Linked DNA regions of Homo sapiens: all the other regions are linked to region 2. Evidence: promoter capture Hi-C in 16 types of primary human blood cells and fetal thymus (Javierre and others, 2016). All regions are on one chromosome and are shown on one strand. The core of a region is centred on a gene start or on the middle of the fragment in contact, and the rest is flanking DNA. Distances in the headings are between cores, read along the strand shown. Region 1 overlaps RPF2 (ribosome production factor 2 homolog). Region 2 holds the start of SLC22A16 (solute carrier family 22 member 16). Region 3 overlaps SLC16A10 (solute carrier family 16 member 10). Region 4 overlaps SLC16A10 (solute carrier family 16 member 10).

Region 1 (2,852 bases), core at 231-2,730, 550 kb after region 2:
AGTTGTTTGGTACACTGTAAAGGCTAAGGATTTAGAGTACAGGGTATATAAACCATATGTGCATAAAATGTGTTTTGACTTTTTAAGTAGTTTTAAAAGACAAGAAGAAATGTAATCTCTAAAATGCCAATAGAAATTGAAACAATAGTCACAACTTCTTAAGCTAAACACAGGCTATTTTCTTGATGTGTGACAGTGGTTAGTGTAGTTTATAGTTTTGTTTTTCAAAGTGTGGCCTGACAGTTTACCTGGGAATTGTGCAGAATATCAGGCCCTACCCTAGACATACTGAATTAGGATCTGTATTTTAGCAAGATCCCAAGTGATTTGTATGCACACTTAAGTTTGAGAAGAAAAGTGTATAGGGCTATATACTGTGTCACTGAAGGGGCAGGCACTAATGGAAATTGCTACTAAGATAGTTGTTACAGACTAGATTTTTACTGGCTCATTATAGTAGAAGGCCATTAAATATATACATATTCTTTTATCGTAGCCAAAGAAGAAGAAAAATATTTCCCATGATACTTTTGGTACAACTTATGGAAGGATTCATATGCAGAAGCAAGACCTAAGCAAACTACAAACCAGGAAAATGAAGGGGTTGAAGAAGCGACCTGCAGAAAGGATAACAGAAGACCACGAGAAAAAGTCAAAAAGAATTAAAAAAAATTGATGGAACTTAGCCAGCCACTACTGTTTCATTGTGTTCTACTTAAGAGAATTATCAAGCGTCAATCCATTCAGAGTTTCTTATAAGATCTTATTATATATTTTTATAACATGATAATTTTACGATATATTATTATGAACAGTAATATACTAGTATTAAGTGTAAAGTAAGCCTTTTATTTGAGACATTACACCCTGGTGTGCCATTTTCTCTTGTGATATCCCCTGCCCTCCACAAATTCTTCTTTCTCATTGGGTGGATGGATGGGTGAGGAGGGATCTCCATAACCATTGGGATTTTTTTGAATTTCTGGCCTTAGCTAAAGAAAGCCACAGAAAGCCGGACCCGCAGGAGCTGTGTAAACAATCTCAGTATGAATTACCTGGAAAGTTAACCTCCTCTCCCAACATGGATCTACATTCTGATTTTTATTTTCTACTTTTATTTTGCCTGAAATCCTACTCGTTGACATTTGAGATTTTAAGCTTTGTGGCTGAAAATATATAGATCTCTGAGAGGGATGTCTGCTATCTGATTATTGATAAATTACACTACTGTTGATTGTTTTAAGAGACTCTACTACTAAGTAGAGCCCACCCCGCTTCTCTGAGACGAAACCTGTGTTTTTTGGTTGGTTTGTTTTTAAGAGATGGGGTCTTGTTCTGTCACCTAGGGTGGAGTGCAGTGGCACAATCACAGCTCACTGCAGCCCTGAACTCCTGGGCTCAAGTAATCCTCCTGCCTGAGCCTCTTACGTAGCTGGGATTACAGGCATGAGCCACTGAGCCCTACTTTTTTTTTTTAAAGCAATGAGGTCTTGCTGTGTTGCCCAGGCTGGACTCAAATTCCTGGGCTCAAGTGATCCTCCCACTTCACCTTCCTGAGCAGCCGGAACTACAGATGTTGGTCCACTGCACCTGGCAGAAAAGAAGTTTTGATAGGGGCAGAAATGAAAAAGGAGAAAACAGGTGAGTTTTAAGGTGCAGGGCACTTTAGGGTACTGGGTAGCCCTAGGTAGCTAAAGGTTGCATGAAGGCCCTGGGCGTTTGCAGATGGTGTAGAAGCCAGCCAAAGCCTAACTACTTGTTTTGAAAGTTTCTTGAAGACAGGCCTTGTGCCTAGGAAAACAGAAGCTTTCTTCTTCCTTCTACTAGTATTGCATACTTGTTTTTCTGGAATAGGGTGTTAAGTTCCTTGATTCAGTCCTTGACAAGGAATCTCCTTTATACAAGTGCCAGTAATGTTGTAAAGGTACAGACATACGCAAATCATAATTTGTTACATGAAGTACCAGTGCTTTCTTTTTTGTTGTTTTTTGAGACAGAGTCTCGCTCTGTCGCTCAGGCTGGAGTGCAGTGGCGCGATTTCAGTTCACTGCAACCTCCACCTCCCAGGTTCAAGCATTCTTCTGCCTCAGCCTCCCGAGTAGCTGGGATTACAGGCACCCACCACCACGCCTGGCTGATTTTTTGTAGAGACAGGGTTTCACTTCAATTCCATGTTAGAGAGCTCCGTGCCTGTGTATACATGCCTTTATGTAAGCTTGCTCAGCTACAGATCAACAATGCTGGCACTAAGCAAAAGTTCGAGCCTCAGCTTTACCTTCTACCCTTTCCCTTCTCTTTTGAATCCATTCCTTAGCTTTCCCTAGTCCTCTCCGGATAGCTGTTACTCTCCTCTTGCCAGAAAAATGAAGGAGCTGGTATCATTTATACTTTTTGTTTGATTATACGTTTAACCAAAGACCATACAGTCTCGTACCTGAATCAGACATTTGCACTTTATATCTAAATGAGAAGAAGGGGCTCAGATAAGTCGTTTGCTGCCATCTGGAGGTAGATGGACAATAGCTGAGAAGGGGAGCCATGAAAAGAACATCAGGAGTGATGGACGCATAGTCCTTCCCCAAAGCCTCGCTCATCACTGGTAGGAGGCAAAGCAGTGGGTCCTCCTCACCAGCCGCTTACGGGACCCTGCCATGCCTGGACCCCTCTATCAGGAAGACCTACCCCAGCACTACTGGAAAATCAGCCAATCTTAACCCAAAGATGGCCATGATTTCTGTATGTGAGACGTCTTAAGGGTGTTTTTGTTTGTTTTAATCAGCCCTCTTGTTTGAGATTTGGCAATACATTTCTGTTTTCTAGGTAATTTCTGTGTCTGATGGTAGAGGATCTAA
Region 2 (2,700 bases), core at 64-2,563:
TAGTATTAGATTTGTGCTTAGGCAGAAACCTTGGTTTTCTCATCTGTGAAAAGAGGGTGATACTACCAACCTTATAAGGCTGTAGTGAAGATTAAAGGAAGTAACATGTACCAACGGCTTATGACCGAGCCAGGCACAAGGCAGCGTTCAATGATGCAAGCAGAGGAAGAAGGGAACAGCTGGGGCTTCCTGCCCGTTTCCTCTGTCCTAACAGCTCCTTTTTGCAGACACTGGGAATCAAAACCAAAACGCATGCAACCTTCCACCTTGAAGAACAGCACCACATCATCTCTTTGCTAAGCCTGATTCCCGTTTTCTGGATAGGAAACTGACACACAAAGTATCTCCAGAATCATATCAGAGGTAAGTAGCAGGCCAGGATCGAGACGCAGCTCCAAATCTCCGGCCATAACGCTGCATGGCCCCTCACCCGGCTACCTCCCCTCTCAAAACACTCTGAGTCAGATAGAGGAGCTCTGTCCATGAGTGAACGAACGAATGAATAATTTAAATTTTTTAAATCAATTTGACAAATGAAAAGAGGGTGTACGGAGGTTAAACGTGGTTCCACCATGCGTTGGCTATGAGTCCTTGACCCCGCCAGCTTGTTTCCCAATCACTAAAATAAGGATTTGAACACCTCCTTTGCAGGGTCCCGGTGAACATCAAATGAAGAACTATGTGTAAGCGCCAGGTACAGTGTACCTGGCACGTATTAGGTTTTAATAAACGGCAACCAACTCTGACTAACGGTTGTCCCTGGGGAACACCTGCCAGGCACAGAGGGAGGCCCTACGGAGGCGCAGGGCAGAACTGGGCAGCAGCCGTCTAGGGAAGTGGCGGCGGATTAGAGAAACGGGCGGCCAGGCACAGGCACCCCCTACGAGTGAGATCTGGCCCCTCGAGCCAGATCTCCAGCCAGATGCCTCCAGCATCTGCTGCCGCGGAGAGCACGCACCAGGTCCCTCCTGCCCGGCAACAGGCGCACTCCGAGCGAGCCCAGCGCCTCTGCTCACCATGCCAGGTCCCGCTGCCAGAGGCCTAGAGGAGAAGCCCAGCTAGGGGCCGGCGTCTGGACGCCCGTGTCCCGACTGCGCGGGGTGAGGAGGAAGTGGAGATGTTTTCGGATCGCGAGCGCCGCGCGAGAACCCCGCCGCAACGGAAAGAAACAGACCCCTCGGCGCCGCCTCCCGCGTGGCGCCGCGGGGCCCCTCCCCCATACCTGCCGAAGTGCCCCACGTGGTCATAAATCCCCTCGAAGTGGCGGGACCCCATGGTGCGGCCGTGCACTGGGCGCCGAGTTAGCCGAGCTCCGGGGACTGCGGGTAGCGCGCCCCGCCCCGAACCTCCCCGCCCGGCCTCCTGCTCTCCCCGCGCGTCCCAGTGCTCGGGACCAGCGCGAGGCTGTATTCTGTTCCTCCCTCCGTCGCTTGGCCCCTCGGTCCCCCCAAGTATCTTCGGCTTTTTTCCTGCCGCCTCGGCCTCCTTCCCGGCGCGCTGTGGTCCCGGCGCCCGCGGTCGCATGGTGCCCTCGCCCCCAGCGCCGCCGCTCTCCCACCCGCCCCGCCGCCCACCCTGGCTCTTGGCACCATGTCTGCGGGGTCGCCACGCTCGAGGGAAGCCCCGACGCCTGGGAAAAGTTGTCGCTGAGAGAGAGCCCAGGGTGGGAATGCAAGGGCTAGGCTCGGTCCGGGGGCCGCAAGAATATATAGCCTTCAGCATGACGCCCCTCAGAAACATGGCTCTCAAACTTTAATGCCTAAGAATCTACTGCAGAACTTGGTTTAAAAGGTACATTTAAGGCCGGGCGCACTTGCTCACGCCTGTAATCCCAGCACTTTGGGAGGCCGAGGCGGGCGGATCACCTGAGGTCGGGAGTTCAAGACTAGCCTGACCAACATGGAGAAACCCCGTCTCCACTAAAAATACAAAATTAGCCGGGCGTGGTGGCACATGCCTGTAATCCCAGCTACTCGGGAGGCTGAGGCAGAAGAATCGCTTGAACCCTGGAGACGGAGGTTGCGGTGAGCCAAGATCGTGCCATTGCACTCCAGCCTGAGGAACAAGAGTGAAACTCCGTCTCAAAAAAATAAAAGTACAATTAGGCCGGCGTGGTGGCTCAGGCCTATAATCCCAGTGCTTTGGGAGGCCGAGGCAGGAGGATTGCTGGAGCCAAGGAGTTTGAGACCAGCCTGGGCAACGTATAGCGACACCTCGTCTATACAAAAATAAAAAATAAATAAATGTACATTTATTTTGAGACTCCATCCCTGATGATTCAGGATGCCTGGGGAACAGGAATCTGATTTTTTTTTTTTTTTTTTTTTTTTTTTTTTTTTTTTTTTTTGAGACGGAGTCTCGCTCTGTCGCCCAGGCTGGAGTGCAGTGGTGCAATCTCGGCTCACTGCAAGCTCCACCTCCCGGGTTCAAACCATTCTCCTGCCTCAGCCTCCCAAGTAGCGGGGAGGTGCCCGCCACCACGTCCGGCTAATATTTTGTATTTTTAGTAGAGACGGGGTTTCACCGTGTTAGCCAGGATGATTTCGATTTCCTGACGTCGTGATCCGACCGCCTTGGCCTCCCGAAATCTGATTTTTAATAAGCAGACCATGGCATTCCAAGCCACACTTTGGAGTGGGCAGGGGTTTGGCCCATAGCCAACCCAGGCAGGGGGTGACCTTCCTTCTGGAAGGTATCAAG
Region 3 (2,700 bases), core at 39-2,538, 740 kb after region 2:
GCCCATCCTTTAAGGCTTGGAATGCTCCTGGGCTTACCTTCTTTCCATTCATTGGTGGTGTGTTTTCTCAGACATACCTGCTCCCTGCTTTCATCTTTCAACTTCTTGGGGCTGTGACAACTCTTCCCTCTTTGTCCCCTGGAAGCCAGTTCTGAGTAGCAGCCAGGCCTAGAACACTGGTGACACAGACACACTTCATAGCCCTCCCGCATGGTCTAGTTTCAGATCATGGTAATCCCTAGTCTAGGAGGCTGCCGAGCCCAAGAGCACAGGCTCTGGAGTGAGAAGCCAGTTCACCCCAGTTCTACCACCAACTTGAGAATCAGCAGAGGGCTGTGGTGAGGATTCTTGGTGGCAGGTTATGTAAAGTGCCTAGCCCAGACTGGATGATTAATAAATCCTTGCATCTGTTATGTTTTAATATCTTATTAAATACTGAAAGCAGATCCTGATTTGGAATAGGTCTCAAGAAAGGAGACTAGGGTCTAATCCTGAATTAGAGTCTTTGCTTATAGGTAACAAAGAATTTATGAATTTATCTCACATTTTTGCTTAAGAGTTCTGAATTTAAACTTCCATCAAGGTCCTGGGTCCCAGGTGTTTTCAACCTAATAATTCTAAATATTGAGTGGTTGGTTGCAGTAGCTTATGCCTATAATCCCAGCGCTTTGGGAGGCCAAGGCAGAAGGATCCCTTGACCCCAGGAATGCAAGACCAGCCTGGGCAACATAGTGAGACCTCATCTCTACAAAAAATTAAAAAGTTAGCTGGACATGGTGGCCTACACCTGTAGTCCCAGCTACTTGGGAGATTGAGATGGGAAGATTGCTTGAGCTGGGGAGGTTGAGGCTGCAGTGAGCTGTGATCATGCCACTGCATACCAGTCTGGGTGGCAGAGTAAGACTTTGTCTCAAAAAAATAAAAAAATAAAAAAAAATGCTGAGTCAAGTCTACTGCTCCTGCCAGAAGAGATGACTGAAGTGCATTACGTAGAATAATAATGGTTAAAGAAAAGCTTTGCAAAAGTTCCCAGAATATATACTTTATTGGGACAGGAGAAGCTACGTGTGTCGTGGTATCTTTTTACTATTTTCTTAATCTTATAGGCCTGTGTTTCTAGTCACCATTAAATTACTACAGATTTGTGTTTTTAATGTAATATATAAGTGTTTTGGAAGGGTGAGAATATTTCAAAGGTTTGAAAGTTAAAACTGTGTATGAAAGAATTGAAAACTTGGAATTTAGATCACTTTTCCATTGTGTCATATTTCTCTGTGACATGGACATATTGAAGCATGGACATCATGTCCATGCACATAAAGCAGACAACCCAGACAACACACACATGTGCACAGGAACGCTCTGGAAGGATGCAAACCGAACTGTTAAGTGTTGATTCCTGAGGAGGTGAATGGGCATGGGTTGAGAGTGAGAAGAGGTTGTAGGAAGACTTTCATATATTACTGTGTACATTTCTCTAAGGTTTGAATTTTAAAAAATATATTCATGAGTTACTTTTGTAATGTAGAAATATTAATGACTTTCCTATCCATCAGTCTGCCTAAGCTTCCTCTTCCGGTTCAGGTAGAATGAATTGGATCAGTGTTGCTCCATTTTCCATTTTAGCATTTTACATTTGCCTAAAGATATCTTGGGATGAGGGTATATACTTTATCAAATGTAAGCTATTTCCAAAGTAGTAAATCCAAATACTTAACAACTTCCCAGCCTAAGTAAATGATCAGAGGCTCCGTACTCAGTCTCATCTAGACTGTGGCACTGGGTGTGAACGTATCAAATGCATGTTTCTCCATCAGGCAGAAGTGAGAGTAACCATGTGCCATGGAGAAGGTTGACAGACTCCCTGTGAAGCACTTCGAAGTGACACTGGCCTCTGTGTGCTTCAGAAGAATCCAGCCACCTGCTGTGTGGCCTGACATTTTCCTTTAGTTTGTGATGGGCCAGCAGAACTCTGTTGCCAACTGTTTTCTGTCCTGGGTGCCTAGCCAGAGGTTCTGAAAGTCTGGAGACTTTATATGGGCTAAACTTTAGGAACGTCAATTACATGTCTATCTCCAAGATGCCTTCTTTTATTCAGGTGCAGCTCATTGTTTCCTCTTGAGCTACACTTAAGATTCTTGAGCAAAACCTAAACTGACATTTCTCCAGCAATGCTCTCCTTGAGATAGAAATGGGAAAAGTAAGAGCAAAAGGAATCTTTTGTTCTCATGTGCATACACTAACTCATAGAAGGTTAATACTTCTATAGCCTGTACTATTATAACAAGTATTATATATTTATGATATATTTCCTTAAAGAAAACAAAAGCAATATAGACATCTAAACTGTCACTGGCTTATTAAGTGTCAGTGCCAGAGCCTAGGAGAAAATAAGGAGCCTGTGAATTCCTTACTCGAATCTAACCAGAGCTGCTGTGTTTGAGAGCAAGTTTTAAAAGATTGTATGTAATACTAAGTTTATTCATCTTTCACACTGAGTCCCAGCATCACCAGATCAGTATTTGATGCCTGGATCAATCTTTATTCTGGGGAGTGATGAAGCATTGAACCTGCTATATGTATAGTTTGCCGAGCGTCGGCATGTGCTCCTTGTGGCCCAGGCATCCCTGCATATAAGGAATAGGTACGTTCTCACGAGCCTCACCTACTTACCTCCACATTTAGCCAGATTCTGGGTAT
Region 4 (2,786 bases), core at 274-2,773, 750 kb after region 2:
TTGATGACACCCACTTGATCATGACAATTCATCTACCTCCGCTTTCCGTGTCCAGCTGAAAGCCCAGCTGAGTCAACTCCTGCTTCATCAGAAGGGAGCTAATGGTGATTCTGGGATTAAAAAGCAAGGGGGGTGCAAATTGTTAGTGGGGTCAAAATATCAGTAAAATTTCTTAAGTGCTTTGTTCTGATAAACGGATGTAAAAGTAACAAAAAAGGAATAACAACTAATATGGCCTGTGGATCTGACAAAGAAAAACCTGAAGAAATTCAGAATCTAGATACACTTAGATTCTAAATTAGACACACTCAGATTCTAATGAACACTTAGAATGCTTCGCCAGTGGCTTTTCAAGTTACACTGGAAGCTTGATTATGAAAAAGTTTTGTTTTCATTGGCAAGAGGGTAGATGATCAGTGATGACAGATTGTACAGCTGTGCCCAAACCTGACAACTTACACATTAAACTCCTGTAAGAGACACTCCTTCCTAGTAGAACAAGGACTGGGACAATGAATTTTTGACTCACTGGAGTTTTTTAAAATGCTGTTCTTGAGTGTGGCAATAGTGTAGGAGTTAACCCAGTCTACCCAAAGAAGTTGCTTTGCCTTTCAATATGAGTGCTATAAAAAGAGTATTTTGGAGTTCAATGTCCCTAAACATGTATGCGATAGGAACTACCAATATAAAATAACACTTAGAACTCAAATTAGATTGGTAATACTATTTTGGAGCCTGTGATGTATGACTTTTATTCTTTACTAGATATTTTTCAGTATCCGTCATTAGAAGAGTCAGTTTGTTAAATATTTTAAATGTGTAAACACAAAACCTTTCTACTGTGATCTTCCCTAATGAGTCAAAGTATCTTTCATAATTCAGTCTATATTGAAATGTTATTTCAGGAATGGAGGGTTTGTTATTAATAGTGCTGGGCCGGGCACGGTGACTCATGCCTGTAATCCCAGCACTTTGGGAGGCCGAGACAGGCGAATCACCTGAGGTCAGATGTTGGAGACCAGCCTGACCAACATGGAGAAACCCCATCTCTACCAAAAATACAAAATTAGCCGGGCGTGGTGGCTCCATGCTGTAATCCCAGCTACTCGGGAGGCTGAGGCAGGAGAATTGCTTGAACCCAGGAGGTGGAGGTTGCAGTGAGCCAAGATTGCACCATAGCACTCCAGCCTGGGCAACAAGAGCAAAACTCTGTCTCAAAAAAAAAAAAAAAAAAAATAGTGCTGCATTTTGACCCTGGACTATGAACAGACTGTATAGTTGGTGCCTCTTTTTTTTCTACCAAAGATTATTAGATCAAGATTGGTGCTATACTTCATGTTCCTTTCAAAATTATTTTTCTTTTAAAAATATTAATATACAACACAATAGAAAATGTATACAGCCAGCAACGTTATGCATGTTGCATGTTATATACATGACTGAGGAAAAAAGCTCACCTATACAGTGATTATTGAGTTCCAGTATCTAGTTAGAGGTATGCAATTTTTGTTAACATATAAGACTTTAAATTACGAAACTCACAAGAAAATGATCACCAAATGAGAATGTTCTAATGAACACAACCTCCCAAGGTAATAATTTTAAAGAAAAAGTCCCTTGTCAATGTTTCTAGCACAAAGTGAGGGATTTAAATATATTCTGTAACTTTGAGGCAATGTGAAAAAGTTATATATAATAGCTTCCTATTGAGCTGGCTTATGTAGACATTTGGACATTTGAAACTATTTCGCAACTTTCAGGCTAAAATCAGAGTTTTGAGAGTCATCAATCTTAAAACATGGATAATGAGTTATTTGCACAGTTATATTTTTATAATTATTTGAAATTTATCACTGAAAGTATCATTGTTTGTCTTTCAGATTTAACATAAACAATAAGTACTGCGGCTGGGTCACTGTCAGCAAATCTCAGGTCTATGATTTATCAAGGGCTCTCAGCACCATCGTTGGTCTGATTGTGTAACACCTAAGTAAAATAACATATGGGTCTCCTTGGCCAGGCGCCGTGGCTCACACCTGTAATCCCAGCACTTTGGGAGGCCAAGGCAGGCGGATTGCTTGAGGCCAGGAGTTCGAGACATACGGGTCTCTTTAATGTTCTGTAGGTAGGATTCAGATGAATTGAGAATGACAGGTTTCTTTTTCTTTCTTTGTTTCTTTTTTTTTTTTTTTTTTGAGATGGAGTCTTGCTCTATTGCCAGGCTCCATATAGTGGCGCGATCTCAGCTCACTGCAACCTCCGCCTCCCGGGCTCAAGTGATTCTCGTGCCTCAGTCTTCTGAGTAGCTGGGACTACAGGTGCCCACTACCACACCGGCTAATTTTTGTATTTTTGGTAGAGATGGAGTTTCACCATGTTGGCCAGACTGGCCTTAAGTGATCCACCTGCCTCAGCCTCCCCAAGTGCTGGAATTACAGGCATGAGCCACCATGCCCGGCTAGAGAATGACAGGTTTCAGTTGAATTCTTCTCTTTTAAAAGACCCTGACTTAACTGTATTTTATGAGGATTTTATAAATGTAAATTAAGAAGACAATACACACTCTCATTTTCCTAATTAGAAAGACTATGCATTCACAATCCAGTACACTGGATTTGCTCTGGTAACTAATGATAACACTTTTCTACGTTAACATGAGTTATATTTGGCAGAGAGAATGGAAGCTTGCTAATCAGAAGTTACATTAGGGTGAGATTAAACATCACTCTAATAATAACTTCTGATGTAACTTAATGTGGTTTGAGATGTGTAAGATTGTAGAGGCA

The links. The method cuts DNA at HindIII sites, captures the fragments that hold promoters and counts their contacts. A CHiCAGO score of 5 or more calls a contact.
Region 1: a contact is called between a fragment that was not itself captured here and the fragment with the promoter of SLC22A16 in region 2, in 1 of 17 cell types (endothelial precursors). The highest score is 5.0, in endothelial precursors.
Region 3: a fragment that was not itself captured here is called in contact with the fragment with the promoter of SLC22A16 in region 2 in 1 of 17 cell types (endothelial precursors); the score reaches 6.8 in endothelial precursors.
Region 4: a contact is called between a fragment that was not itself captured here and the fragment with the promoter of SLC22A16 in region 2, in 1 of 17 cell types (M2 macrophages). The highest score is 7.3, in M2 macrophages.

What each region holds. Positions count from the first base shown.
Region 1 is chr6:111,024,907-111,027,758 of GRCh38, forward strand. RPF2 (ribosome production factor 2 homolog) reads left to right here. Exons shown (of 10, transcript NM_032194.3): 10 at 497-2,852. The coding sequence ends at 676. Among named protein-coding and RNA genes, the nearest start is that of RPF2, 44 kb to the left of the region's middle. The HindIII fragment of the contact is 648 bases long and covers 1,157-1,804 here.
Region 2 is chr6:110,475,300-110,477,999 of GRCh38, forward strand. SLC22A16 (solute carrier family 22 member 16) reads right to left here and starts at 1,314. Exons shown (of 8, transcript NM_033125.4): 1 at 1,223-1,314. The coding sequence starts at 1,275. LOC105377938 (a long non-coding RNA gene) reads left to right here and starts at 218. Exons shown (of 2, transcript XR_942860.3): 1 at 218-363. The HindIII fragment of the contact is 6,876 bases long and covers 1-2,700 here.
Region 3 is chr6:111,211,881-111,214,580 of GRCh38, forward strand. All of the region lies in intron 4 of SLC16A10 (solute carrier family 16 member 10), which reads left to right. Among named protein-coding and RNA genes, the nearest start is that of SLC60A2-DT, 46 kb to the right of the region's middle. The HindIII fragment of the contact is 551 bases long and covers 1,014-1,564 here.
Region 4 is chr6:111,227,814-111,230,599 of GRCh38, forward strand. SLC16A10 (solute carrier family 16 member 10) reads left to right here. Exons shown (of 6, transcript NM_018593.5): 6 at 1-2,786. SLC60A2-DT (SLC60A2 divergent transcript) reads right to left here. Exons shown (of 3, transcript XR_001743807.2): 3 at 1-110. Among named protein-coding and RNA genes, the nearest start is that of SLC60A2-DT, 30 kb to the right of the region's middle. The HindIII fragment of the contact is 2,317 bases long and covers 366-2,682 here.